Regions from separate parts of the Homo sapiens genome. Here all the other regions are linked to region 3. Evidence: promoter capture Hi-C in 16 types of primary human blood cells and fetal thymus (Javierre and others, 2016). All regions are on one chromosome and are shown on one strand. Each heading gives the region's core, a stretch centred on a gene start or on the middle of the fragment in contact. The rest is flanking DNA. Distances are from core to core; before and after follow the strand shown.

Evidence for each region. Contacts are between HindIII fragments. The CHiCAGO score rates a contact against its expected background, and 5 or more counts as called.
Region 1: a contact is called between a fragment that was not itself captured here and the fragment with the promoter of ARGLU1 in region 3, in 8 of 17 cell types (naive CD8 T cells, total CD8 T cells, M0 macrophages and 5 more). The highest score is 13.2, in naive CD8 T cells.
Region 2: a fragment that was not itself captured here is called in contact with the fragment with the promoter of ARGLU1 in region 3 in 1 of 17 cell types (total B cells); the score reaches 11.1 in total B cells.
Region 4: a contact is called between a fragment that was not itself captured here and the fragment with the promoter of ARGLU1 in region 3, in 13 of 17 cell types (total B cells, activated CD4 T cells, naive CD4 T cells and 10 more). The highest score is 26.8, in total B cells.
Region 5: a fragment that was not itself captured here is called in contact with the fragment with the promoter of ARGLU1 in region 3 in 14 of 17 cell types (total B cells, total CD4 T cells, naive CD8 T cells and 11 more); the score reaches 35.2 in total B cells.
Region 6: a contact is called between a fragment that was not itself captured here and the fragment with the promoter of ARGLU1 in region 3, in 7 of 17 cell types (naive CD8 T cells, naive B cells, total CD4 T cells and 4 more). The highest score is 10.6, in naive CD8 T cells.
Region 7: a contact is called between a fragment that was not itself captured here and the fragment with the promoter of ARGLU1 in region 3, in 2 of 17 cell types (total B cells and naive B cells). The highest score is 8.2, in total B cells.

The regions. Positions count from the first base shown.
Region 1 is chr13:102,808,857-102,812,599 of GRCh38, forward strand. The region is part of intron 3 of BIVM (basic, immunoglobulin-like variable motif containing); the gene reads left to right. The region is part of intron 1 of BIVM-ERCC5 (BIVM-ERCC5 readthrough); the gene reads left to right. Among named protein-coding and RNA genes, the nearest start is that of BIVM-ERCC5, 3.6 kb to the left of the region's middle. The HindIII fragment of the contact is 3,846 bases long and covers 257-3,743 here.
Region 2 is chr13:102,968,990-102,973,177 of GRCh38, forward strand. No RefSeq gene overlaps it. Among named protein-coding and RNA genes, the nearest start is that of SLC10A2, 95 kb to the right of the region's middle. RefSeq lists an enhancer at 1,715-1,914. The HindIII fragment of the contact is 203 bases long and covers 2,701-2,903 here.
Region 3 is chr13:106,566,028-106,569,820 of GRCh38, forward strand. It overlaps ARGLU1 (arginine and glutamate rich 1), which reads right to left and starts at 2,110. Exons shown (of 4, transcript NM_018011.4): 1 at 1,546-2,110. The coding sequence starts at 1,892. RefSeq lists a silencer at 1,272-1,571 and enhancers at 1,466-2,376, 2,052-2,171, 2,182-2,251. The HindIII fragment of the contact is 1,462 bases long and covers 1,363-2,824 here.
Region 4 is chr13:102,863,859-102,867,464 of GRCh38, forward strand. BIVM-ERCC5 (BIVM-ERCC5 readthrough) reads left to right here. Exons shown (of 23, transcript NM_001204425.2): 17 at 1,809-2,053; 18 at 2,404-2,523; 19 at 2,774-2,987. ERCC5 (ERCC excision repair 5, endonuclease) reads left to right here. Exons shown (of 15, transcript NM_000123.4): 9 at 1,809-2,053; 10 at 2,404-2,523; 11 at 2,774-2,987. Among named protein-coding and RNA genes, the nearest start is that of ERCC5, 20 kb to the left of the region's middle. RefSeq lists an enhancer at 1,830-3,029. The HindIII fragment of the contact is 3,824 bases long and covers 1-3,606 here.
Region 5 is chr13:102,841,579-102,845,741 of GRCh38, forward strand. All of the region lies in intron 9 of BIVM-ERCC5 (BIVM-ERCC5 readthrough), which reads left to right. Among named protein-coding and RNA genes, the nearest start is that of ERCC5, 2.4 kb to the right of the region's middle. RefSeq lists enhancers at 3,384-4,163, 3,793-3,842, 4,053-4,163. The HindIII fragment of the contact is 8,959 bases long and covers 1-4,163 here.
Region 6 is chr13:102,824,609-102,828,640 of GRCh38, forward strand. The region is part of intron 7 of BIVM (basic, immunoglobulin-like variable motif containing); the gene reads left to right. The region is part of intron 5 of BIVM-ERCC5 (BIVM-ERCC5 readthrough); the gene reads left to right. Among named protein-coding and RNA genes, the nearest start is that of ERCC5, 19 kb to the right of the region's middle. RefSeq lists an enhancer at 1,202-1,703. The HindIII fragment of the contact is 5,979 bases long and covers 1-4,032 here.
Region 7 is chr13:103,018,972-103,022,941 of GRCh38, forward strand. No RefSeq gene overlaps it. Among named protein-coding and RNA genes, the nearest start is that of SLC10A2, 45 kb to the right of the region's middle. The HindIII fragment of the contact is 785 bases long and covers 2,316-3,100 here.

The sequences.
Region 1 (3,743 bases), core at 930-3,429, 3.8 Mb before region 3:
AACATCTAAGGAATCTTTGTTGACAACTCCTTTTGCATCCTAATACTGGTAATTAATTTATTTTCTCTATTTTTTTTAAAACTGATCAATCTAGCTAGGAGTTTATCAATTTTGTTAATCTTTTCAAATAACTAGCTTTTGTTAATTTTCTCAATTGTTTGTTTTCTATTTCATTGGTTTCTGCTCTTTATTATTTGCTTCCTCTGACTTACTTTGGGTTTATTTTGTTCTTCATTTTCTGACTTCTTAAGATGGAAGCTTAGATCATTGATTTTAGACTTTTCTACCATAAGCATAGAATACTCCAAATTGCTAAGTACTGCTTTAGCTGCAGCTCACAAATTTTGATATGCTTATTATTATTACTTAATTGGAAATATTTTCTAATTTCCTTTGCAATTTATTCTTTGATACATGTATTACTTAGATGTATGCTGTTTAATTTCTAGATATTAATAGTTTTTCTAAATATTGATTTCTAGTTTAGTTCCATTGTGGACAGAGGGCATATGCTCTCAGTCTTTTTAAATTTACTGAGACTTGTTTTATGACCCAACATATGGTCTATCTTGGTGAATGTGCCATGTGCACTTGAAAAGAATGTGCATTCTGCAGTCATTGGGAGTATCTATAAATATTAATTATGTCGAAGTGTTTGAAAGTGTCATTCACATCTTTTGTGTCTCCGCTTAACTTGTGTCTTGTTCTATCAATTACCAAAAGAAGGGTGTTAAAAATCTTCAACTATGATTGTGAAGTTGTCTTTTCTCCATTTAATTTCTTTTTTAAAAACTAATACATGTCTAATAACAGAAAATTTACTGTCTTAACCATTTTTACGTGTACAGTTTAGTGGCATTAAGTACATTTACGTTGTTGTGCAACCATCATCACTATTCATCTCCAAATCTCTTTCCTTTTCTTTTCTTTCTTTTTTTTTTTTTTCTGAGACAGAGTCTCGCTCTGTCGCCCAGGCTGGAGTGCAGTGGCGCGATCTCGGCTCACTGCAAGCTCCGCCTCCCGGGTTCACACCATTCTCCTGCCTCAGCCTCCCGAGTACCTGGGACTACAGGCGCCTGTCACCGTGCCCGGCTACTTTTTTGTATTTTTAGTAGGGTCGGGGTTTCACCGTGGTCTCGACCTCCTGACCTCGTGATCCGCCCGCCTCGGCCTCCCAAAGTGCTGGGATTACAGGCGTGAGCCACCCCGCCCAGCCCTTCTTTTCATCTTACAAAATAAACTTTGTACCCATTAAACAATAAATCCTCATTCCTTCTCCTCACAGTCCCTGGAAACCACAATTTTACTTTTTGTCACTGTGAATTTGACTATTCTAGGTACCTTATGTAAGTGAAATCATATAGTATTTGTCTTTTTATGACTGGTTTATTTATAGCCACCCCTGCTCTCTTCTGGGTGCTATTTGCTTTGGAATACTTATTTCCATCCTTTTACTTTCAGCCTATTTGTATCTCTAGATCTAAAGTGAGTGTTTCAGAGACAGCATATAGTTAGCTAATTTTTTCTGTTTCTGTTTTTGTGTGTGAACCCACGTATACAAAAACATATTTTTAAAAAAATGCATTCTGCCAGTCTCTATGTTTTGAGTGGAGAATTTAATCCATTTACATTTGAAGTAATCACTGATAAGGAGAGACTTGTCATTTTAGTACTTGTTATTTATATGTAAACACTCTGTTCCTATACTGCTTCGTCCACACTTAACTTTCAGTTATTGATGTTATCAAATTACAAATTTATATATTGTGTGTCTGAAAACATAAACTAATAATTTTTATGTATTAATCTCTTAAATAATGTGGAAAACAAAATGTGGAGTTACAAACCAAAGTTATTATAATAATAGCTTTTTTATTTTTATTTTTTATTTTGAAATAGGGTCTTGCTCTCTTGCCCAGGCTGGAGTGCAGTGGCACGACCATGGCTTACTGCAGCCTTGACCTCAGGCTTAAGCAATCCTCCCACTTCAGCCTTCTGAGTAGCTGGGACTACAGGTGCACATCACCACGACTGGCTAATTTTTAATATTTTTTTGTAGAGATAGAGTCTCACTATGTTGCCAGGGGTGGTCTTGAACTCCTGGGCTCAAGCAATCCTCCTGCCTCGGCCTTCCAAAGTGCTGGGAATACAGGCATGAGCCACTGCTCCTGGCCTACTACTAGCTTTTAAGCTAATAATAATTTCTCAAAAATGTATTAGTCTCATAAATCATATAGAATACAAAAACTGGAGTTGCAAACTAACAAAATAACACTGGCTTTTATAATTGTTCGTGTATTACCTTCACTGAGGTAAATTTATTTCTTCCTATGGCTTTGAGGTACTAGCTAATGTCCTTTCATTTCAACCAGCAGGAATCCTTTTAGCATTCCTTACAGGGCAAGTCTAGTGGTAATAAACTCCTTCAGTTTTTGTTTGTCTGGGAATGTCTGAGTTTCTTCTTCACTTTTGAAGGACAGTTTTGCTGGATTTAGAATTCTTGTTTGAATTTTTTTTTTATTTCAGCACTTTGAATATATCAGCCCACTTCCTTCTGGCTTCCAAAGTTTCTGATGAGAAATCTGTTGATATTCTTATTAACAGTCCATTGTATGTGATGAGTTGCTTCTCTTGTGTTGCTTTTAAGAGTCTTTGTCTTTTTGCAATTTTTAAATTTTTTATTTGATACGGAGTTTTGTTCTTGTTGCCCAGGTTGGAGTGCAATGGCACGATCTTGGCTCACCACAACCTCCACCTTCTGGGTTCAAGCAATTCTCCTGCCTCAGCCTCCCAAGTAGCTGGGATTACAGGCGTGCGCCACCATGCCTGGCTAATTTTGTATTTTTAGTAGAGACGGAGTTTCTCCATGTTGGTCAGGCTGGTCTTGAACTCCTGACCTCAGGTCATCCGCCTGCCTCAGCCTCCCAAAGTGCTGGGATTACAGGCGTGAGCCACCGTGCCCAGCCTTGCAATTTTATTATAACATATATTGGTGTGGGTCTTTCTAAGTTCATCCTATTTGGAATTTGTTGAGTTTCTTGGATGTTTATATTCATGTTTTTTAAATCAAATTTGGAAAGTTTTTAGGCATTATTTGTTTGGATAATCTCCTACCCCTTTTTCAGTGTCTTCTCCTTCTGGAACTTCTGCAATGTATAGGTTGGTCCACTCGATGGTGTCCCCAGGTCCCTTAAGGTCTGTTTACTTTTCTTCAGACCTTTTTTTTTCTGTTCCTCATACTCAATTATTTCAGTTTTCCCATCTTCAAGGTCACTAATTTTTCTGCCTGCTCAAAACTGCCTTTGAATCACTCTAGTGAGTTTTTCATTTCAGTTATTATATTTTTCAGCCCAAGAATTTATTTTTGGTTTTAAGTTTTCTATCTCTTCATTGATATTTCCATGTTCTTCATACATACATCTTTCGTTAGTTCTTTTGGCATCTTTAAGATAGTGGTTTTAAAGTCCTTGTCTAGCAAGTCTGCCATTTGGTCTTTCCAGGATGGTTTCTGTTGGTTTATATATTTTTTTGTTTCTTTGAATGGGCCTTATTCTGTTTCTTGTGATTTTTTGTTGTTGTTGTTGTTGGAAACTAGACATTCAAATATTATTTAATAATGCAGTAACTCTGGAAATCAATACCCATCTTTCCCAGAGTTTGTTGATTTTAGTTTTTGTTTTTTGATTGCTATAGGCTGTTTCTATGCTGGTAATCAACCTGAGGTATACATTTAAGGGCTTCTC
Region 2 (4,188 bases), core at 1,552-4,051, 3.6 Mb before region 3:
CTGATTGCCGGGAAGCCAGAGTGCTGGGCAGGCAGGGCCATACAAGGGGAGGGCCTTCGGACTTTGCTTTCACGTTGCTCTGTTTTCCTATGGATTTTTGCTAGGCTACGTGTGCTATTTCAGTATTGTTTGTGTTGTTACTCCATTTATTGCATTCTAACTGTGACTGAATAAACCAGGTAATAGCAAGGGGGTACATTAGAAGAAAAAAAATGAAAGTTTAAAGGTTCTTAAAAATGCCAAAGCCTTTATTCCATTGTATGTGGATTTTATTTGGCTACTTCAACATTGAAAAGTATTTTGAACAAAAGCGCAAGCACAAAAGAGCACATAATGTTTTCTGCACATGGTGCAATGCTTAAGAGTCTAGGTTTTGGAGCTAGACAGATGGATTCTGAGTTTTGTCTCCTCTTTGCTATGTGACCTTGTCAGATTACTTACTGTCTTCCAGCTCAGTTTATCTTCTGTAAAGTGGGTGTGATGATGATACTGGAGTCTCTTAAGATTTTACTAAAGATTAAATGAGATAATACATGTAAAGTGTCTAGCTTTTGGCCTGGTACTTACAAAATCATACAACTCACAATTAAATTTCATTTTTGCATTGTTGGTAATGTTTACATTTCATAAATAGCACCTGCTGTGATAGCACTATGGATTTTTTTGAGTACTTACAAAAGCAGGATCTAAATGAAAAGTTAGCGATAATGCAGATAAAGGATGAAATTTAAAAATGTATACTATGTATTCAAATGATGATTCAAACAAGGAAGATAGAGAGCGAAAATATAATGCTTATAATGCAATGCTGTGGGAAGCCATGGGTGGTTCAATAGATTTAAAATTTGTGCCAATGTTCAAAATGTAAAAGTGAGAGGTTGAGAAGGCTAGTGCAGTCATAAAAGCCATAAAAATTATCCTAAAATGTTATGAATAATTATAAGGAGAACCTGGTATGGCACATAGCAACTTTTTGTTGTGAATTAAATTGGGCTCTTTTAGGGAATGATGTCAAAAAGGGGCAGACAATAAACAGTATTAAAGACCACATAAGCTAGTCATGCATTACTTTTCCCAAAGCGTTCAGTGTTAGTTAAAGCTAATACTGGCACTGGTTTATCATTTAGAACATCCATGTGTACTCGAAGGCCTTGGCAAGCTTGCAAATGTGTATATGTTTGAGCCAAACGTGCTTTGAAAGACACTGGGAGCAGCATGGGTGAAAAAAAGTGAGTAGATCTGGGCCTCTGTGAGGAAACCGAGGACTAGACCATGCTTTTATCTTTTGAGATCTTTGGCAATAGAATAACCATCAGTCCTAATTGCTTAGTGTTGCCTGACGCTCTCTTTCCATTATGTGAATTTATATTTTTATCTTCTTGACTTTCAGTTGCTGATAGGTTCTCCGTGATTGACTTATTACATTCCTGTTTGGCCTACATTTACTTGGAGTACACCTGTATCATTTTGAGAGAGACCTTCTTAGTCTTGCTAAATTGAAAGCTTCATTTATTTACTTTTTTATTTTTGTCTAGAGTTGGACTGGCAAGGCCTCTGAAGTTGTGAGTTGACTTCGCCTAGGCTGCTTGTTCTTCAGTCTCAGAACATCCTTAGCCACAGGTCATCTTTAAGAGCAATTTACTTATTTCATCTTGGTGAGAAAGAGCACTTAACATGAGATGGACCCACTTGACACATAGGTGAAATATTGCGTAGCAGATCTCTAGAGCTTATACTTGCTGAGCAGCAGGTGTTCACCTTTGTAACTGTGGGAACTTTACACTTGTGGAACAGTAACTCTCTGTTTCCCTTTCTTGTAGTTTCTGGCAACTGCCATTTTACTTTCTGTTTCTATGAGTTTGACTATTTCAGATCCCCCACATAAGTGGAATCACTCAATATTCATCCTTCTATTGCCACAGAAAAACTTGCATCAACTGATGCTGACTTGGATAACCTGGGATTTTTTTTTTTTTTTTTTTTTTTTTTTTTTTGGTACTGAGTGCAATGGCTGGACTCAGTACCAAATGGCTGGAGTGCAATGGCGCAATCTCGGGTCATTGCAACTTCCGCCTCCCAGCTTCAAGTGATTCTGCTACCTCAGCCTCCCGAGTAGCTGGGATTACAGGCGCCCACCACCCCCAGCTAGTTTTTGTATTTTTAGTAGAGAAAGGGTTTCATCATGTTGGCCAGGCTGGTCTCGATCTCCTGACCTCAGGTGATCCACCCGCCTCGGCCTCCCAAAGTGCTAGGATTACAGGCATGAGCCACTGCGCCTGGCCGGATCACCTGGGATTTTAATCTTTCAGCCTAGCACAGTGCCTGGATTGCAGGAGGCATTCAACATATACTCTTTGAGAGAGGTCTTATTTAGAGTCACTGAATTAAAAGATTTATTTTGCCTGGGTGTGGTGGCTCACATCTGTAATCCCAGCACTTTGGGAGGCTGAGGCAGGCGGATCACCCAAGGTCAGGAGTTTGAGACCAGCCTGGCCAACATGGTGAAATCGTCTCCACTAAAAACACAAAAATTAGCTGGGCATGGTGGTGGGCGCCTGTAATCCCAGCTTCTCAGGAGGCTGAAGCAGGAGAATCGCTTGAACCCTGGAGTGGGAGGTTGCAGTGAGTGAAGATTACGCCACTACCCTCCAGCCTGGGAGACAGAGCGAGACTCCATCTCAAAATAAATAAATAAATAAAAGCTTTATTTATTTACTTTTTGCCAAATAATAAATTTTTGTATGCTTTGGATGCATGGAAGAAAATGATTGTGGCCAAATATACATGTTTACCATAAAATCAATTTATTGCTAAGTACTAAAGAGTAAAAAAATTACAGATGCGACAGTAATAACAGCAACATTTATCCATTGAGCCTTTCTTGCCTGCCAGCCCTGGTGCTAAGCTTCACGTTCATTTAATCCTCACAACAATCCTGGAAGGTATGTATTAGAATCTCCATTTGTAGATGAGTAGCAGTATTTTAAAGTTTGGAGAATAGCCCGGAAGGTCACAGTATTGTTGGAACTGAGCTCATGCATTGGAGATTATGGAATGATTTGATCAGTGTTACTCTGCTTCCTTCGTTGTCTCCAAGCTCTGATGGAAAAAGTTGCAGACCATCTTAGTCACTACCTGGGCAAGCTTTTCTTTTTTTTCTTTTTGTTGTTTTATTTCAATAGCTTTTGGGGTCCGTGTGTTTTTTTGTTATATGGATGAATTATATAACGGTGAAATCTGAGATTTTAGTGCACTCATCACTTGAGTAGTGTACATTGTACCTAATGTGTAGTTTTTATCCCTAGCCCTCCTCCCATCCTCTCCTTTCTGAGTCTCTAAAGTCCATAATATCACTCTGTTTGTCTCTGCATACTCATAGCTTAGCTCCCACTTGTGAGAGCTAAGTGAGAACATATGGTTTTGGTTTTCCATTCCTGTGTTACTTCACTTAGAATAATGGCCTCCAGCTCCATCTGAGTTGCTGCAAAAGACATTATTTCATTCCTTTTAAAGGCTGAGTAGTATTCTGTGGTGTGTATATACCACATTTTCTTTATACACTCATTAGTCGATGGGCATTTAGGTTGGTTCCACATTTTTGGGTAAGCTTTTCTTTCATAACATACATCTATTTGGTCATTTACTTTTAGTTTTGCCATTCAGGGTGACAGAGATATTTTAGATGCTCTGATTATGTTAAAGAATAAACCCCAAGAAAGGTGTTTATTGAAATGCAGTTAGTTTATCCAGACATATTCCTGGTTCTTAAGCATGTTTCCTTGTTCAAGTTCAACCGTTTCAGTTTGGTTTCCTGCTAAACTTGGAGGAATCAACTATTCTCTTAGAGTAAGGATTTTGCTTCTTGTCTCTGAAATGATGGACTTGAGTGCCCTGTGAGACATAAATTGCCAACATGCATCCTGGCGTCCTGGAGTGAGGTTTAGAGGGGAGTGGTAAGACTGTCCTAGAGTAGTTTCAGTGGAAATGTCTTTCTCTCTCCTCCACCCTCTCGCTATCGTGTTTTCTCTCTCTCTGCATTGTATGTTGAGGAGCACCAATCCCATTAGTAATAAAAATCAATTGCACTGAAAACAGCTGTGGTCAGAATAACTCGAAGGAACCATTCTTCAAAACCCACCGCTGCATGTCAAACCCCAGACTTCACAAACAGGGCAGTAGTTTGATCTT
Region 3 (3,793 bases), core at 860-3,359:
AATGTCTTAGGTAACTTTTCATACATCCATCTGTTGATAGCTATTTGAGATCTTTACAGCTAAGGGCCTTGTTGCAGACCCAAAAGTTGTATTCTACAAAATCAAGGTTTAATTTGAAACGATTACTTGAACTTTGTTTTCATATGTATCACTGACAGTTCTAAGTACAGGAAAAATGAGTGTTGCATGTGTTTTAAAGGAGTGTTGGAAGCAAAACAGCTCCAGGTACAGCTTCCTCTGTAATATTAGTGCTCCAGTCCTACCTTTTAGTAACTTTGGTTTTAGAAACAAGCTGTGTGTGTGTGCTGGAAAATCTACCTAACACAAACCCAACTACAGAAAACTACAAACCACGCAGTCAATTCAGCACACATATACTCGCCTCGAGAAAATCATAAATTCAGTAACGTTCTTGCTTCATGAGCACTTTCTAAATATTCACTGAAGAACTGACCAAGTACGGCTGGTTCAATAGGGAGTTAGTAGGACTGTTCAAATCTACTTTTCAATGCGGTTTTTGGAAACTGAATACCCAGAGCATCAAAGTACGATGATCATAAAGCAAAACACACAACAAATCCCTAAATTTTAAAACCCAAAAATTCCTTTAGTTTGGGATTATTTATCCACATCTACTTTCATAGCCAGAAATACTTGAGAGCTGACATTTTCGGAAACACACTCTAACTCTAGTTTTCACTAAATATCCTTCATGGGAGCAACGCCAAAATAAAATCAACCCTTCAAGTGTCTTCTGAAGAAGCACAGTGTAAGGGAAACAACAAAACTGCACGTGTTTGCTACAGGAATAGAAAGCAAGTTAAAAAAGCGGTAGGCTTTGGGATGGTGATTACACAGGTGAATTCAAAGGTCAAAAAACTCATCGCACTGTACACTTAAGGTCTATGCTTTTTTTTTTTAACATCTCAAGGAAGGGGTGAGGGTGTAGGCTCAAGGGGAAAAAAGCAATCCCAACACCTTAACAACAGGAATACACTAAAGTGAAAATGCATTTTTCTGGCGGACCACCTAAAGTGTATGATTCCCGAGATTAGTTAAGTCCTGTCCCAAATTTGAGCTTCAATAGAATGCTTCTGGCCAGCTGTGATTCGCATCTCAAAGGTTAATTCCCTTCTCTCTCCTCCTCAAGCCGACCAGCAAACGCTCACCACCCTCCACATCTGCAGGCCGGCTCGCTCCCGGCCTCACAAGCCAACGCAGCTCTCCGACCTCACTCCGAACTCCACCCCTACTTCCGGGACACCACTCCTCTCTCGCGCCAAAATCGCCTTCTCTTAAACCCTTTCTGCTCAAGCCCTCGAATTTTCCATCCCGAACAACTTCTGGGTCTGTCCCACCCCAAGCTTTCCAAACGCCAAGCCTGCCCGCCCCGCCGCCGCCTCTCCGACCCGTTCCCGCGCCCGGTCCCCAGCCCCGGACCGTCCCCGCCATTCTCCCGGCCCGCACCGTCCCGCCCCGGCCCCACGCCCTCGCCCCGCGCCCTGCTCTCCGCACGCCCCGGTCCCTCCCCGCGCGGGCACTCACATTTTTCGCTGCCGCTCGAACTCCGCTTTCTTCTCCTCCTCCTCTCGCTTCTGCTTCTCGTCCAGGCTGCTGCGCTTGCTCACCGTGCGCCCGAAGATGTCGATGCGGTCGGGCGGGGACGAGGCGCGCTCCCGGTCCCGCTCGCGCCGGGACACGGCCGTGTTGGTGGAGCGCGAACGGGACCGCGACTCCCGCCGCCGGTTCCGTTTACTTTCCCGAGATTTGGAACGCTTCCGCACGCGCTCCTTGTCCCGGGATCGCGACCGGGACCGGCTGCGCTTCTTGTTGTGCTTGCTGCTCTTGGTGTGCTTGGAGCGGGACGAGCTCCGGCTCCGAGACCGGCCCATCCTTCCGGGAGACGCTCTAACCGCTCGCCTCAGGCCCCTCACGCGGCCAGTTCCCCTCGCCTCCGCCTTCGGACGCGGGCTGGCGGTTCTACCGAGGCCGGAGGAAAGAAAGGTGTCGGCCAACGGACTTTATGCCTTTTCCCGGCGTCTACAGCTGCCACGAAGGCCGCCTCCAACGAGAAACCCGTAGCGCCAGGCGCCCCTAAGATGGCAGCTGCGGCTGCACCGGCCGCCCTTCCCACAATGCCCTGCGCGAAACGTGCCGAAGCGTGGGCCCCGCCTCCTGACGATTTTTGCCGAAGGCAGGCGAGCGCTTCGGAGCGGACTCGTTTTTTTCCGCCAGTCTTGGCGGAAGCCTGAGACGCAATAGATGGAGACTCTCCTTTTCGCCTTGGCGTACTCTTTTTTTTTTTTTCCTCCCTGGTAAGATGCCAACGCCTGTTGAATGAATTAAGCACGTTTTAGTGGGATTTAAGTCCGGCCTCGCAGAAGTTGATTGATTGCATTATTTTCTAGGAGCTGGTCTTGTGGGGCAGCCCTAAAATGTATCTCCAAGTGACCCTGCACTCATCACTTGCTGCCTTGGACTTAGTTTCCTCATTCGTAGAATGGAGACACCACACTTTCTGAAGTGCTTATGAGACTTGCAGGAGGTAAGTAGGCAGCAGGTTTTGATGAATGTAACCTAATGCTTACTATAGGGCTTAATGTGCCTTCTAAATGCTTTAATGTATTAACAAGTGCTTAATTCTTACAATTCTGAATTAAGTACTACTATTATCCACGTTTCAGAGATGAGGACCCTGAGGTCCACAGAGGTTAAATAAGGGTCACACAACCAGTAGGTGACAGAGCAGGGACGTGAACCTAGATCATATTGTGCAAAGCCCTTGCACATAACCAGCAAGCCCTCCTCAACCCTAGCCACGAAAAGCTTCGTCCCTATGTGGCACAACAAACTGTGTCATTGTTAAGACCTAAAAGGAAAAGGCAATGTTAATATTTGCAGATGACAGGAACCCTTGAAAATCTAGGTGCCTCAATTTTAAAATTGAGTGCAATAATAAAGCTTAAGTAAGTAGAAGAAAAATTAGAATTATTTGAATAAGCAAAAACATATTAAAAATGAAATAATATTTCCTCCACAATGGCAACAGAAACCATAAAATACTTAGGGATAAACTTTAACAAGTTACACAATCTTTATTATAAACCTTTACTGAAAAGGCAGTAATAAGGCCCTAGTAAATGTAAAACATGCTGTATTCTTAGGTGAGTAGTCAGTATCAAAAATACTGTCAATTCTTCCCAAGTCAAATTACAAAATTAGTGCAATTCTCATGAGAGTCCCAAATTCTCTTGGGGATATGTGTTTTAGAACTAATTAATTTTAAGTTTTATATGGAAGATCACATAATTAATTATCAAGAAAACTTGGAAACAAAGAAGAGTAGTGTATTAGTCTGTGTTGACTGCTGTAACAAAATATCATAAACTAGGCAGCTTATGAACAACAAATTTATTTCTCACAGTTCTGAAAGTTGGAAATCCAGGATCCAGGTGCTAGCCAATCTGGTCGCTGGTGAGGACCCAGAGATTCACAGATGACTCACAGAAGGCACCTACTCACAGTGCCCTCACATGATAGAAGGGGAAAGCTAGCTCTCTGAGCTCTCTTTTAGTGGCACTTCTAGGGTCTGAAAGTTTGTGTTCCCTCAGATTCATATGTTGAAACCTAATCACCAGTGCAATAGTATTAAAAGGTGGGGCTTTGGGATATTGATTAGGTCATGAGGGCTCTAACCTCATAACTGGAATTAGTGCCTATCTCAGCCCATTTCCACTGCTATAACAGAATACTTTAGACTGAGTGATTTATAAATAATAGACATTATTTCTCA
Region 4 (3,606 bases), core at 493-2,992, 3.7 Mb before region 3:
TCTGGCACCTGTTAGCGTGGCAGCTTCACACAGGTCACTAATTTGTTTCTTGAACTTTGTTTCTTGTTTATAAAATAAATGGAATCTATTAAGATGGTGGTTTTTTAGGATTTAAGATAATATATATGAAATGTGTTCATATATATGTTATATATGCATATGTGTGTATATGCACATAGATATGTTTAGGAGCAATGACTCGGTATTGGCTAATTTAGTGTTCACAGAGACTTCATACGTGATGGCCACTTTGAATAAGAGAATCAACCACACACACACACACACACACACACACACACACACACACAATTTGTTCCTGGTATCTGCTAGTTTTCTTCATTCAAATGTTACTATTTCCCTTTTGTAATTAATAAGTATTTTGTGGAAAAGGAATTTTTGGAGCTATATAAATATGCTGTTCCTGAACAAACTTCCACCCACTTGTTAGCATCCATTGATGTTTACCTGAATAATTTGTTACTACGTTGGTTGCCAAATGATGGTTTTTCTAACTCCATCATTCCTTATATATTATTACTTGACATCCTCCTATGAGGAAGATCTTTTCCTTCTCCCCATTTATTTTTATTATTTTTAATCAGTGTAGACTCCTGTATTCCTATTTAGTGAGTTATAATCCAATACTGTCATAATTTACTTTGTTACTCAAATTATCACAGCTTTGGCCATTGGGGCTCCTTCTAATGGCTTTCAGCAGTTTTTTCATTATATTTTGAGCTTTTCCTTGCTTTCTGGCCAAGCTGTTTCAGGCATATGTTGTACTTTCTCTGCCCTGGTCCTGGAACCAGCCATTTCACCAGGGAGCTCTGGTTCCTTTCAGTGGAGCATGGGGTTTAGACACCACAAGCTGGATGTGAGTGTGCTTATGGATCCTGAGGTATAACTGTCTCAGGCCTTTTCAGCAACAGTGCCAGGAAGTATATTTATGTATACATATACATGCACACACACATCTATATTTATTTCTATGTCTATCTGTACTAAAATCCATGAGTTTATACTGACATCTGCAATTCCATGGGGTTCAGTCTAGCCTCCTGCTTCTTTATAGTTTCCCTAACAATGAGAAACATTGCTCCCCTTATCCTCAATACATTTACATCTGCTTATTCTCCCTGGATATGTAACCATCTCCCCCTCCCACTGGCCTCCTCCTTGGCCCTGCTCTCTTCTTTGCTTCAGCTGTGTCCTTGGTGCCAGCTCCCAGTCCCTGAGAGCCCCCTCCTCTGTTCTGATTGTCTCCTTAAACCCAGCTGGACAGGCCTTGCCAGCCCTCTCCACCTACAGGGAAGGAAGGCAACCATTAAATATATTTTAAGGAGAAGGAAAGACAGTAAGACAGTAAGAGAGGAGAGAAGGGAAGTGGAAGAGGAAGAACTATTTCTTAGTCACAGCTTTATTCTGTGCTGTGTAAATAGCATAAAAACATACTGAGCAACTTCCATGATTGTTTATATACTTTGATAATCCTCCTTTTTGAATTTTTAAAACAATGTCAGTTAACTTAGAACATATTTATATAAAGCGAATATACAAATCTTAAGAGAGTTTCCTACTTTCAAAGACAGTGCCAGTTTACCTAATTGAAAAGGCTTGTTTTGAAGTTACAGGCATTTGTGATTACATTTATTTATTAATAACGCTACTATTACATGTATTCTGTTATAGTCATATCTTTCCTTTTTAGGATGTAGCATTTTTCAGGTTCCTCCAGAAAGCTCTTGATGATTGCAGGATCATTTTAATGTTTTGATTGTAGATGAAGTGACCTTTTAATTTTGGTACAGGAAGTTTCATTGAAGTGCAAAGTGTGATTAGTGATGAGGAACTTCAAGCAGAATTCCCTGAAACTTCCAAACCTCCCTCAGAACAAGGCGAAGAGGAACTGGTAGGAACTAGGGAGGGAGAAGCCCCTGCTGAGTCCGAGAGCCTCCTGAGGGACAACTCTGAGAGGGACGACGTGGATGGTGAGCCACAGGAAGCTGAGAAAGATGCGGAAGATTCGCTCCATGAATGGCAAGATATTAATTTGGTAATACCGTAACATTGTGTTTCGACTTCTTGCTGAGGAAGCCAGGTTAAGTAGGTTTTGAGTTTTAAGGAGTTGGTGGATGAGTATTTAGTAGCTATTTGCAGTACATCTTGTGGTTGCTGATGGCTTCATTTTTGTGTAGGTTACTGGCTGGGATAGACTCCGTTTTCCATGTGGTTTAGTGATGAATCTCTAAAGATATTACAGAGTCTTGGTTAGACATCCAGTGGAGTACTTCCTAAGGAGAAAGAGCTTATTGGTAATTTCAGTCAGACTAAATGCAGGCTTTTTGTAAACAAAACTCATTTGGATTATTAATATAAATCTATAAATGAAAAAACATTTTATAGGAGGAGTTGGAAACTCTGGAGAGCAACCTCTTAGCACAGCAGAATTCACTGAAAGCTCAAAAACAGCAGCAAGAACGGATCGCTGCTACTGTCACCGGACAGATGTTCCTGGAAAGCCAGGTGGGTGCAGGCAGCTTGGGTTTCCTTTACCACCTTCTTCAGACCCCTGGGGGAATGCACTGCATGAAGGGGGTATGCACTGTGCCCCCTGGTGCTCAGGGCCTGGTGATGCCGTTCCCTGGGGGTCACTGTGTGTCCCTAACTCTGCAGGAATGAATGCATTACATGAAGTGGTAGGCACTGCTCCCCCTGTGCTCAGGGCCTGGCGGTGCCCTTCCCTGGGCGTCACTGTGTACCCCTCACTCTGCAGGAACTCCTGCGCCTGTTCGGCATTCCCTACATCCAGGCTCCCATGGAAGCAGAGGCGCAGTGCGCCATCCTGGACCTGACTGATCAGACTTCCGGAACCATCACTGATGACAGTGATATCTGGCTGTTTGGAGCGCGGCATGTCTATAGAAACTTTTTTAATAAAAACAAGTTTGTAGAATATTATCAATATGTGGACTTTCACAATCAATTGGGTAAGACTTCAGAGTCTTTTTGATTACTTTCTGACATTTACCTTCAGAGTTTGTCCTAGGAAGTTTTCTTTCCAAGGAACTAGTTTGATGCATTGATGGAAATTGCAGGTCTATGCAAATTTTTATATGAGTGATCTTTGGCTTATATAGAGGAATAGGATTTTAAACATTTGAATTAAGGAATTAAAGTCCTAGTATGTTTAGGTAGTTAATCAACTGACTTAGTTAAACTTTGACTAGTTACCCGAGATCTCCACAGTGAACAAAAGGTGGTGGAGAGGGGAAGCAGGCCGCGCCTGGGCCTGTATTCGGGTTTCTGGCACTGATCTTCTTCTGTTCATCCAGCAAATATATGTTTGGTGACTCCTATATGCCAGTTGTTCTTAACAAGAGGGAAGGAACAGAGAGTAAAATAGTAGGAGAAACAGATGATAAGCAGATACATAAATCATAATTTGACAGTTGGTGGTAAGTGCCAAATAGAAAAATATAACAGTAAAGGAGAGGAGAGAGTGAACTTCAGGCATCGAGAGTGCAGGTGCTGTTTCAGAGAGTTGTTGGGAAAGGCTTTACTCGTGTAACTTCAAGGCAGGGACCTGCAGGAAATAGGAAGCAAGCA
Region 5 (4,163 bases), core at 1,664-4,163, 3.7 Mb before region 3:
TGTGTCTTTGAAGTACATGATAATTTGTCAATTCTGCTCAACTGGTACATTGTAAGAAACCATCTTGAGCCTTTTATAATTAATGAAACAATATGCATTATGATGACTGTAATTTTAGATTTCTAATTTAATAGGAAATAGAAAATTTGATTCTTTTATTAGCTTGAACCAAATGAAGTTGTCATCTTTGTAGGTCAAAAATGGTTGAATATTAGCAATTTCATACAGTTCAACTGAATATTTCAGAGAAGACGTAGGTAGGAAGAACCAAGAGGAAAGGAGAAAAATGCAAAATAAAATAAGAAATTAAAGGATAGGGAGACACCTAGAAAAACAGGATGAGTTATTCAGACTATTGACCATAATCAATTTTTATAAAAGTCTTGATCTGTTCTAAGTTTGGCTTCCAAGTTTGGCTTTCCAGTTATTAAGAGCACAATGAGGTTTGAGTTTAGTGAGATTATCTTTCCCGCAGAAGCTGTAAGCAAGAGTTACTGCATACTTCTCTTAGAAGATTAGTAAAATTCCCTTGATATTTGATTTCTTGGTCAGCTCTTAGGAATCCTATAGATACAGTGAAAGTTCAAATACTGGCTCTGCACTTACAAGCTATATCACCTATAGTGATATAGGCAAGTTAAGGTTAATTTTTTTTCTGTGCCTATTTCCTCATTAGTAAAGTGGGGGTAATAGTATCTACTTTATAAATGAATTTGAAGAATAAGCTAATACATGTAGTGTTTAGAACAGTGCTTTGTAGATAGGAAGTGCTATTTAAGAGCTTGCTATTATTCCAAAAGATGTGAATTTTACTATTCAGAGTCTTTAGAGAGAGCCCTTTAGATAGCATCTTAAGGAGCTAATTCCTTTTAAATCACATATGCACCCCTTAGTTGCTGTTTCTTCAAAAGAATATTTCATATTCAAGAATGTTGCTTTATTTTTTTGAGACAGAGTCTCGCTCTATTGCCAAGGCTGGAGTGCAGTGGTGCTCTCTGCAACCTCCGCCTCCCGGGTTCAAGTGGTTCTCCTGCTTCAGCCTCCCGAGTAGCTGGGATTACAGGCATGCACCACCATGCCCGGCTAATTTTTGTATTTTTAGTAGAGACTGGGTTTCACCATGTTGGCCAGGGTGGTCTCGAGCTCCCGGCCTCAAGTGATCTGCCTGCCTCGGCCTCCCAAAGTGCTGGGATTACAGGCGTGAGCCACCATGCCCAGCCTTTGCTTTGGTTTTAAAAGTACTTACAATACTCAAATGCCTATGTTGGCTATTTATTTTTACCCAGCTCACAGGCAGAAAAAAAAAAGTTTATTTAGATCAAATTCTGCAGCAATTCCTTTCCCTACTGCTATTACTGTTAAAGAACTGTGTGCCATCATTAGGCCAAGTTGGTGCAGCACCCAAAATACTTGCCAACTTGTCTTCTCCCAGACTGGAGGGGCTCAGGCAGCTCTTCTAGGATCCATCACATTCTGCATCTCAACTTTACCAATAACACTCCCACCCCTCCTGTACCAGCGATTCACTCAACAAACTAAATTATACACCATTACCAGGTCAGTTCTTAAATAGCTCAGCAGCAACAAGAACAACAAGATGTTGGTCGCATTCTAATTTTACTGGCAGAAACTGAGGGTTTCATTGGTGAAGAAACCTGCCTAGGATCACAGTGTCTTAGTTTCTCAGGGCTACCATAACAAAACACCACAGACAGGGTGGCGTAAACAACAGAAATTTGTTTTCTCATGGTTCTGGAAACTAGAAGTCCAGGAGCAGGCAGGTTTGGTTTCTTCTGAGGCCTGTCTCCTTCACCTGCAGAGGGCCGCCTTCTCACTGTGTCCTCACAAGGCCTTTCCTCTGTGCCTATCATCCCTGGAGTCTCTCCCTGTGGCCCAATTTCCTCTTTCTACAAAGACACCAGTCAAATTGGATTTAGGGCCTATCCTAATGGCCTCGTTTCAATTTAATCATTTTTAAACGCTGTGTCTTCAGATAGTCACATTCTGAGGTACTCAGGCTTCCACAGATGAATTTTGGAGGACACAATTCAGACCATAACACAAGGCAACATATGGTTCAGATGAGATCTGAATGAATGATCAGCCTAACCTCCAAGCAGATTCTTTCAGCAGACTGCAAGGTGCACTGGAGAGCTTTAGACTAGAGGCTTAAGAGGTCATTTAGGCAATATTTACAGAACTGCTAAGTGCCAGGATTGGGGGATGTAGCAGTCACGAAAATCGTTCTTCGTTTCAGTAAGTTTACAGTTTACCATGGGGAAGAGACAAATACTGAACAGGCAGTTATATTACTCTCAGTAAAATAACAACTGGGAACAGTTTCTGGGGATTACTTTACATATGGAGGAAATGCAAAAAACACTTTGTCAGGATTATTCCTGTAGCAAATTAGATGTGACTAGGTCAACCAAACATGGCCACTGTGAACCATCTTATTGAGCATAGAAGTGGTTTTGCTAAAAATGGATTTCTCCACGGAGCACGGTGGCTCATGTCTGTAACTCCAGCACTTTGGGAGACTGAGGCAGGAGGATTGTTTGAGACCAGTTTGGGCAACAAAGCAAGACCCTGTCTCAAAAAAAAAAAAATCAGGGCGTGGTGGTGGGGGCCTGTAATCTCAACTACTCGGGAGGCTGAGGCAAGAGCATCACTTGAGCCTGAGAGGTGGAAGTTGCAGTAAGCTGAGACTGCACTACTGCACTCTAGCCTGGGCGACAGAGTGAGACCCTGTCAAAAAAATAAAAAATAAAAAAATAAAAAAAATCAATTTCCCGTATACTTCTGTTATAAAGAAGTCTTTAAAAAATTGCCTGCTCCCTTAAGTCAGCCTTTTCACTGAGTTTAAATTTCGTTCCAATTTGAACAAATATGGATGCTAATACTATCCTTTATAGTTACTAGTGCTAAGTGCGTTGCATGTAACACCTTGAATACTTACTGAAGTCTGCAAGGTTGGTTTTATGCCCTGATTACTGATGGAGACACAAATTCTGAACAACTGTGACTTCAGGGATGCTAAACACCATAGTGAGGCACGATGCGGGGATTTGAATCTTGGCCTGAGGGTTCCAGAGCTGTGGCCTTTTCTGGGGTTACTCTGTTAATTGATTTCTAGTCCTTTCTGATCTACAAGCCGCGGCATTATAACTTTTAGATGCTGAAGAAAACTAAACTATATGTCAAGGATTAAGGCTTGTGAACCCCCAAAATTTGGGACAGGTCTCAGTTAATTTAGAAAGTTTATTTTGCCAACGTTAAGGACGCGCAGCTGTGACACAGCCCCAGGAAGTCCAGATGACATGTGCCCAAGGTGGTTGGGGCACAGATTGGTTTTATACATTTTAGGGAGACAGGAGACATCAATCAACATATGTAAGTACACTGGTTCCTTCCAGAAAGGTGGGGACAACTCGGAAGCAGGAAGGGCTTCTAGGTCACAGGTAGATGAGAGACAAAAGGCTGCATACGAGTTTCTGATAAGCCTTTCCAAAGGAGACAATCAGAATATGCATCTATCTCAGTGAGCAGAAGGATGACTGACTAGAATGGGAGGCAGGTTTTGCCCTGAGCAGTTCCCAGCTTGACTTTTCCCTTTTGCTTAGTAATTTTGGGACCCTAACATTTTCACAGGCTTTAAATTTTATTATTCTTTAGTTACTACGTGCTAGCATATAAATAAATAGTACAAAACCAAGAAGGCATCCACCTTTTGGTTGTCTCTTCACGTGTAAAACAACACTTTGTGTTAAGTATCTTCACACACGGCGGCGCAAAGGTAGAAACCGATACTAAAAAAGCGTGTAGAAAATAGTTCCCAGCCTGGGCAACACAGGGAGACCTCATTTCTACAAAAATAATTCGCCAAGCATAGTGGTGCGCACCTGCGGTCCCAGCTACTTGAGAGGCTGAGATGGGAAAGTTGCTTGAGCTCGGGCAGCAGGAGTTCCAGGCTGCAGTGAGCTAAGAATGCGCCACTGGACTCCAGTATGGGCGACAGCGTGAGACCCTGTCTCAAACAAAAACAAAAGCCCGTTACTCCACCAAGAAGGCGCTTTTGCACATTGTTTTAATGCTTAACGCCTTCAGGATGCCAGCGTGACGGAAGCAAGTAACCACCAAGGCATCACCACTGGCGCTAAACT
Region 6 (4,032 bases), core at 1,505-4,004, 3.7 Mb before region 3:
GCTTGGATCTTGAAGGCAGCCATAGACAACATGTAAACAAATGGATATGGTGGTGTCCTGGGAAAACCTTACTGATGGACCTGAAATTTGAATATCACATAATTTTCACATGTCACAAAATATTATTTTTCTTTTGAACTTTTAAAAATTTTATTATTTATTTTTTAGAGATGAGGGTCTCATTCCGTCCACTAGGCTGGAATGCAGTGGCTGTGATCATGGCTTACTGCAGCCTTGAACTCCTAGGCTCAAGCGATCCTTTCCCCTTAGCCTCCCAAGTAGCTAGGACTACAGGTTCATGCCACTGCACCTGGCTAATTTTTAATTTAATTAATTAATTAATTTTTTTTTTGAGACGGAGTCTCGCTCTGTTGCCCAGGCTGGAGTTCAGTGGCGCGATCTTGGCTCACTGCAAGCTCCACCTGCTGGGTTCACGCTATTCTCCTGCCTCAGCCTCCCGAGTAGCTGGGACTACAGGCGCCCACCACCATGCCCGGCTAATTTTTTGTATTTTTTTTAGTAGAGATGGGGTTTCACCATGTTAGCCAGGATGGTCTCGATCTCCTGACCTTGTGATCCGCCCGCCTCGGCCTCCCAAAGTGCTGGGATTACAGGTGTGAACCACTGTGCCCAGACTAATTTTATTTTTTAATTTTTTTCAATTAAATTTTTAGAGATGGGGGCTCACTATATTGCCCAGGCTAGTCTTGAACTCCTGGCCTTAAGTGATCCTCCTACCTCGGCCTCCCAAAGTGCTGGGATTACAGGCATGAGCTACTGTGCCTGGCCCAATTTTCTTTTGATTTTTAACAATGTAAAAACCATTTTAGCTTGCTGCCCATTTCAACACAGGCTGCAGTCTGGAGACTGGATTTACCTGTTGGTGGGAGTTTGCCAAACCCTAACCTAGAGGATGAAGCCTAAATTCCTGAGCATGGTGTTTGAGGGACTGGCTTTCGAATATCCTGCTTCAGCCTACCTCCCCTGGTGTTCAGCCATGCTGGGCTCCTCGATGTTTCCCTGTTCTTCACAAGATACAGGTCATCCTTAGGCCTATGTGCCTCACTGATGGGATGCCCTGCTGTGGAGCATGTGGAATGTGGGATTTCATATCTTTGTGATTGGTGGATTCCTATTTATTTGTCCATCCTGGACTTCAGCGTAACAAATGGATATGGTGGTGTCCCGTGAAAACCTGGGGGGATGGCTTTTTCTTCTGCTTGCCAGGCAGGATTCAATCCCTTCGTCTCCTGGGTTGTCACAGCACCATGTGTGCCTCTGGTAGAACTTTGATTTCATTGCGAGGTAATTCTTGGTGCACCGTATGGTTTCATGCAGAAAAACTAGAGTTGCCTTTCTTGAGGATTAGGCCAAGTTCTTACTCATTTGTGCATCACAGTGCCTGATACTTAGGTGCTCAGTAGGAGTTAATTTAATGAATTCGCAATTGAGGATATGAGTCAGGAGGAATTCAGGAGATTGGGGTTACGAAACTTCTAAGAGAGAATTTTGTTGTCCATTCCAAAGCTGGCATTCTTCCTTTGCAAGAGCTCTCTCTTGTGATGTGGAAAGGAAAATGTTTTCTCTTTCCCTTTCTGTAGCTCATCTTTCCTTCTGGCTCCTACCTGCTCTCCCCTCCCCACACTCCCAGACACACACTCACCTGCACCTGTGTGCTAGATCTGCCCTGCTTTCCATCAGAACCCAGTGCGTCCTCCTTCTGTCTTCTGGAGTCTCTCAGTTGACAGTTTTTCGTGTGTTCCTAAGGACAGGAAATGAGCCAACTCATTGAATCTGAAGTTTTCAACTTTACATCTTAGCAGTGCCTTGAACATTGCCTTTTACATTATAAATAGTAAGAGATTAAGATTGTCTCAGAATCACTTCCTAACTGATTCATAGGGTGGCTTTATATCTCTTTTAATGGGGTGTGGACCAAAATGCATGTCTGGGAGTATAGAAATAATCACTGGAACGAATGTCATACTTACGTGTCGGATATAATGGAAAGCTATTACAATACAGTTCTCAGTCTTGTGTCCCAAGACTGCATTATGAGTAAGGCCCTGGGAGACACCAGAACAAGTCTCATAATTCCTTTTACTTGTTTTCTTTTTGCCTGCTGATTAGAAGAGGACTTCATTTGAGTAGTTAATGGCTTTTTCTATTAATATCAGCAGTATCTAGATGGAGTGAGAGGATAGATGAAGAGATGGGTCAGTCAAAGTAAAGGAAATTAAGGGAAGCAGGAAGACCCAGAGAAATTAGAATAAGAGAGAAAATCTATCAAAGAAACTCTGGGTATCGAGGAAACATCAGCTATATACATTTAATCAAATTCCCAAAGTAAGAACATATACTTTTATAATTAATGGAATGGAATAAAACACTAAAAGGGCCATGGAGAGAGTTGACTTAGGAATCACTATTCTGGAATTTTAAAAGATTTTTGATCAACTGTCTTGTCCAACTTTAAGATTTTATACTATAATTTTGCTAGAAATTCTCATTTGTAGATCTTTTGAATATCTGTACTTTATTTATTTTATTTTCCAATAGTCTGGTACCTCCCAAGTTCTTTGTGACTTATTTAAATGTAATGATTTGGTGCATGTGTTAACCAGTTCCCTTAATAATCTAGGATGTGTAGCATTGGGTCCCAATGACTTTTTTTTTTTTTTTAACCTATTTGTTTAAATTTCCTCCAGCATACATCCAAACTTTTCATTGAGGAATGGGATAAACTACCTATTTTCCTTAAATTTGTTTTCTTTTGTTAGGGGGTTGAGGTGCTTACTGTAATTTGAGTAAGTTTTAATATATTTTTCAAGTTTTATTCCTACTTTCAATTTTTTTTTTCCAGAATATTCGACTTTTTACTGCTTTTCTGTGTGCATTTCCTGAAGGATAATTAATCTGCGTACGCCTCCTGGAATATTTTTGTCTTTACCTTTGCTAATTGGGGGACCCAGTTAAGCCCTGCTTCATCTCTGATATGTTCCTTGGCCACCTTAGCCCTGGATTCCTCTAAATTCCTCTAGTACTGATTTTTCACACCCATCATTTTCCATTTGCTATGTGCTATGTTTTATTATGTTTCACCTGTTCAATGTGAGTGTCCAGCTCCTTGACCATAGGGACTGTTCTGAGTAGCCCTTACATGCTAGATATGATGCCCACGACATTACACGTTACCCTATGAATTCTGATGGTATTCAGGCGGTAGGGTGGTTCATGTGTAAAGCAGACGTCTCTTCCGTTCTCTCCCATTGTGGAAGAAAGAGTTGCAGAGATAGGCTTTCTGATTTCTCTCTGGGATGTTCACTGGTGAAAACCATTGTCAGTGGCGCTATTTGTTTAAAAACACTTTTAAATCTATCTTCTCTTTGTGCTTAAATTGTTTTTTAAGGACCACTAAGCCTGTTTTTCACAATGGGCTTTACGTTTTCCTGGGGACCACGCTGTTGTGATTCAGGGACTCCCCGGTGCTTATGTCCAGTGGGCTCTTAGTAACTGTAAACTAAGCACACTAATGGAATAAAAGTGAAGTCCAGGGATTTTGATAAGACTTAGCTGTTAATATCAGTATTTTTTTCAGAGATGTCACTAGTCACAATGAAAATTTATTCTAGGAGTTGCCAACATTAGGTCTCTGTTCAGATAACTTCCGAGTATGGGTTCACTTAGCCACCAACATTTGCACCAGGCAAGTCCAGACTCATTTTTTTAATCAGCTAGCTTGAAAATTGCATTTATATTCATGTATTTAGTTTTTTCTAGTGGGTATTGCAGTTCATAACTTTTGCTTAACAGAGAAGACCCGTCTCTGGCCTCATTCCTGTATAACTCACACATCGCTTCACCATGATTGTTGTTACCAGCTTACTGAAGCACCTCAGTACATCTCCGGTGGACAATACATTAGTATTCTGTTTTCCTCATGTACTGGTTTTCTCCAATTAATATTAGACACAAATAATAAATCTCTTGAACATGCAGTGCTAACATACCCCTTTCCTCTTTAGGAGCTGT
Region 7 (3,970 bases), core at 1,458-3,957, 3.5 Mb before region 3:
TCACTGGATACTGTTGTGTCTTAGAAATGTCCATTAGGTTCACCCTCCCCTCTCCAGTCGCTTTGCTGTTTCCAATCATTACTTCATCACACAATATATGGATTTTAGAAACAGCTTCCTGGCTTGCTTCTCTGCCTTCAGCCTCATTTCTTTTCATTTCACGCCGTGCACCATTACTGCAATACTATTCCAAAGATACCCCTTTCCTTTTGTCACACTGTCCAGGAGCCTATAGTCCACGCATTAGCCCAATCACTCTGTCTGACTTTTGAGGCTTTCCATACCTGGGACTTGTCTTAGCTCCAGCTGCCATAACAAAATCCCATAGACTGGATGGCTTAAACAACAGAAATTTATTTCTTACAGTTCTGGAGGCTGAGAAGTACAAGATCAAGGTGCTGGCAGAGTTGTTTTCATTCTGAGGCCTTTTCTTCTGGATTGTAGGTGGCCACCATCTTGCTGTGTGCTCACATGACCTCTTTTTTGTGTACCCATAATGAGAGAGAGAGAAAGAGAGAGAGAAAGTGCACTCTCACTGGTGTCTCTTATTAAAATGGTACTAATCCCATTAGACCAGAGCCCCACCCTCATGACTTTATCTAACCCTAATTATTTCCCTAAGACTCCATCTTTAAATACCGTCATATTGAGTACTAAGGATTCAGCTTATGAATTGGGTACTAAGGATTCAGCTTATGAATTGGGTACTAAGGATTCAGCTTATTGGGGGGACATAAATGTTCAGTCCATACAGGGCTCCTTCAGTCCCTCCCGTCCCTTTTCTGTTACTCCTTGGTGTGCACTGTTATCTCTTGTTTCCTCATGGCTAACACCTCTCCTCTCTATGCAGTGATTTTTCTCTGTATGCATCTGTTTCTGCTGCTCGCCAGCCTTCTCCCTCTCCTGATTCCTTTTCTATCTCTCTTATTCAGAGAACTTTCTTCTTTCCTTGTATTGCTCAAATTGAACAGATCCTTTAAGGTCCACCTCAAATCACACCTGTTCCAAAGCACACTTTCTAATCTCCAACTCATAGGACTATCCTTTCTCTGAACTCTCGCAGTTATAGTCACACTGTAATTTAACACTTAATCATTCTCTAATTCTTTTATAGTATTTGTGAAATATGTTATTGGAATTTATACTCTACAGGGCACTTTCATGTTTGTAGTCTCATGTGATTCTGTCAGTGAGGTAGAAATTATTATAATTTTTATTTATGCACAAGAAAATGGAGGCTCAGTGAGGTCAAATGACTTACCACTGGTTATAAAACTCGTAACTCAGTGTACAGATGCAGTTTTCTGACTCTAAGACTTGTAGTTCATCTACTCATTGCTTACTCCATTTTATGAATCTTTATACAAGTTTTCTTTTTTCTTATAATAATTTAGGTTATCTTGTGTTTTATGAATCTCTACAGGTAGGATTAAATTCTTTTTTGGTGTGTGTGCATTAGGGGGAAACGAATGCAGTTAATTTCTATGAGGGAGTTTAGAGGTTTATTCCAATTGTATTTCTTCATGCTAAATCATAAACTAGGGAATTCTGTAATAAATTGTAGTCTATTGAACACATGGAGAAATAGAAATAGTGACTTAATTTCTGCATTCTATCTACTAGATTAGACAATTTCTCTTTATTTTTTTCTCAAGTTAAAATTGTCAATCAGAAGCTCTTGGCAAAGACAACACATTTATTCAACAAAGTAAGATATCAATTTTGTTTTGTTGCAATTGCAGTGTGTATATCTAAGTTCCCCAGTACGTGATCTCAGGATATTTTGGCCTCCCACTCAGAAGATGAACTCAGAAGGTGTAGCCATTAGGTGGGGGTGAGGGAGCGTGGAATAATTTAACAGTGGAAACCCACCAATCACACCTGACCCCAATCCGTCCAGACATAGTGCAAAGAAACCACTTACAAATTCTTTTAGAGTGATACCAAATCAGAAACATTTAATGTGCACTGAAAAAGCCAAGTTAAGAATCAAGTTCAGACGTTAGAGGTGAGATATCTACAACTAGAGCCAAGTTAGAAAAGGGTTAGCCCTTTATGTGGCCAAATTAAACAAGACACAATTGAGGCTAACTCATCCCTCTAGGCACTTATAAAACCTACACGTGGGAACTTTTGAAAATGAAGTTAGCACCGATTGTGTCTTATTTTGCTTGGCTGTTTAATGGGCTAACCCTTTAGGAATTTGGCTCTGACTGGAGATATCACACTTTTATGTGTCTGACCTCCTCCTTCAACTTTCCTTTTTTTGGTGTATATATAGAATTTAAAATATCAGATACGGTATTACATTATTAAGCTTAATAACAGTAAAAGATAAAAACAAAATATTAAAAAGAACAGAATGTGCTTAAATAACAATGTAATTAGACTACCGGGGACATACTGCCTTCTTTGTGGTCTACTCACATTTAGGAGTTGAGTTGGATAGTACTGGTTAAGATCACCAATGAAGCTATTTGGGAGAATTCCCAAACCAAGCCTGTTCACTCACTCCCATTACATGCATAGGCAAACATGCTTAAAAGGGGACCGCAGGGTACGTGGGCATAACAAGGCATGAGTTAAGAGGTAAACAGCAGACAGACAATGTACTTTAGTCCAAAGATAGCTCCTGTCCAACTGCCTCAGTGTTTTAAGCTAATAGATTGTGTGTCATTACTGAAGGGCTGGCAGCTCCTGGGGCTACAGGCACAGGTGGGAAAGAGGATGTTGAGAACATAATAAAGAATTGCTTTCAAGGGTGTTTTCCTACTAAGATGTTCTGTGCTGTATCTGTCAGCAAACTTCCACTGCTTTGAGGCTGTAAATTTAAACACCTACTCGTCAATGCAGTGTTGGCTGCATAGATTATCCAAGAAACATTTCATGGCATTTGATTAACTTGTAAATCTTTATTGCAATGCAATAATGAAAGCATCTCTACTGAAATCTCCTGTATACCCAATTTTGGGCCACTATCCCAAGTGGCCTCTTTCTGTGACACATATATATAGAAAATTATACTTTATTTTTGGTCCAATAACCAAGTAATTATACTTGACTGTTCCTTTAACAAGGCCTTCAGTTGAAAAGCACATAAAGCTTAATAAGTAAGATGTATATTTATCCTTATATTTTCTGGACTTAGGTCCTACAAATTGGTGTTCTTTTTTTTAAACGTTTATGTTTTCCAGCATTGGTGTGCCTATGTGGGAAATAGCCTCAACTGTGTATCATGATCTGATTTAAGGTTTTATTCTTAATTCATAAGGTTGATTATAACACAAAATTGATGAAAGGATGCTTCCTGCTATCAAACATTAGGCAAGATTCTGTGCACTGAGCTCAGGAAAGGGCATTGTAAATATTTACATCTTAATTTTTACTCGGTCCTTTTCTTATTGTTGTGCAGCCAAGGGGAATTCTCTTAAAAATTTGTTGGCATTTTTTATTTGGCAGTTTCATACTGAGGTAAATGTTGGCAAATGAACAAACAGCTTCTGTTCCAGCTTCTCTATGGTTCCATTCCAGGTCAGTCCCAGGATCTTGGCATGATTTGAGAAGTTCCTGCTGCCGTCCACCATTTCTGGCCAAGGAGACCTCTGGGAAGCCAAGCTCAGGAATGTAGCCATTCCACCGAACCATTTCCATGGAATGACTCATTTGGAAATCTGTTTTTCCTCTGTGAGATTTCCTGGATCTATCAATTACTGAAATTCCTAAGCAAAAGATACCCTTTCAGGACTTGACCATTGTTTTTTGTTTGTATGTGTATGTTTTTTTTTTCTTAGAAAACTGAGGATGGCTTTACTAAACATCTGTTGCCTGAGTCTATATTCTTCAGGACTCACTTCTGAAAATCTAAGATTCCTTTAAAGTGGTTCGTACTGTTAAATGACTGAATCTTCACTTTTCTATTTCTGCAAACCTCATACAAATTATTTTCAAAATAGACAACTAAAAATTGTAG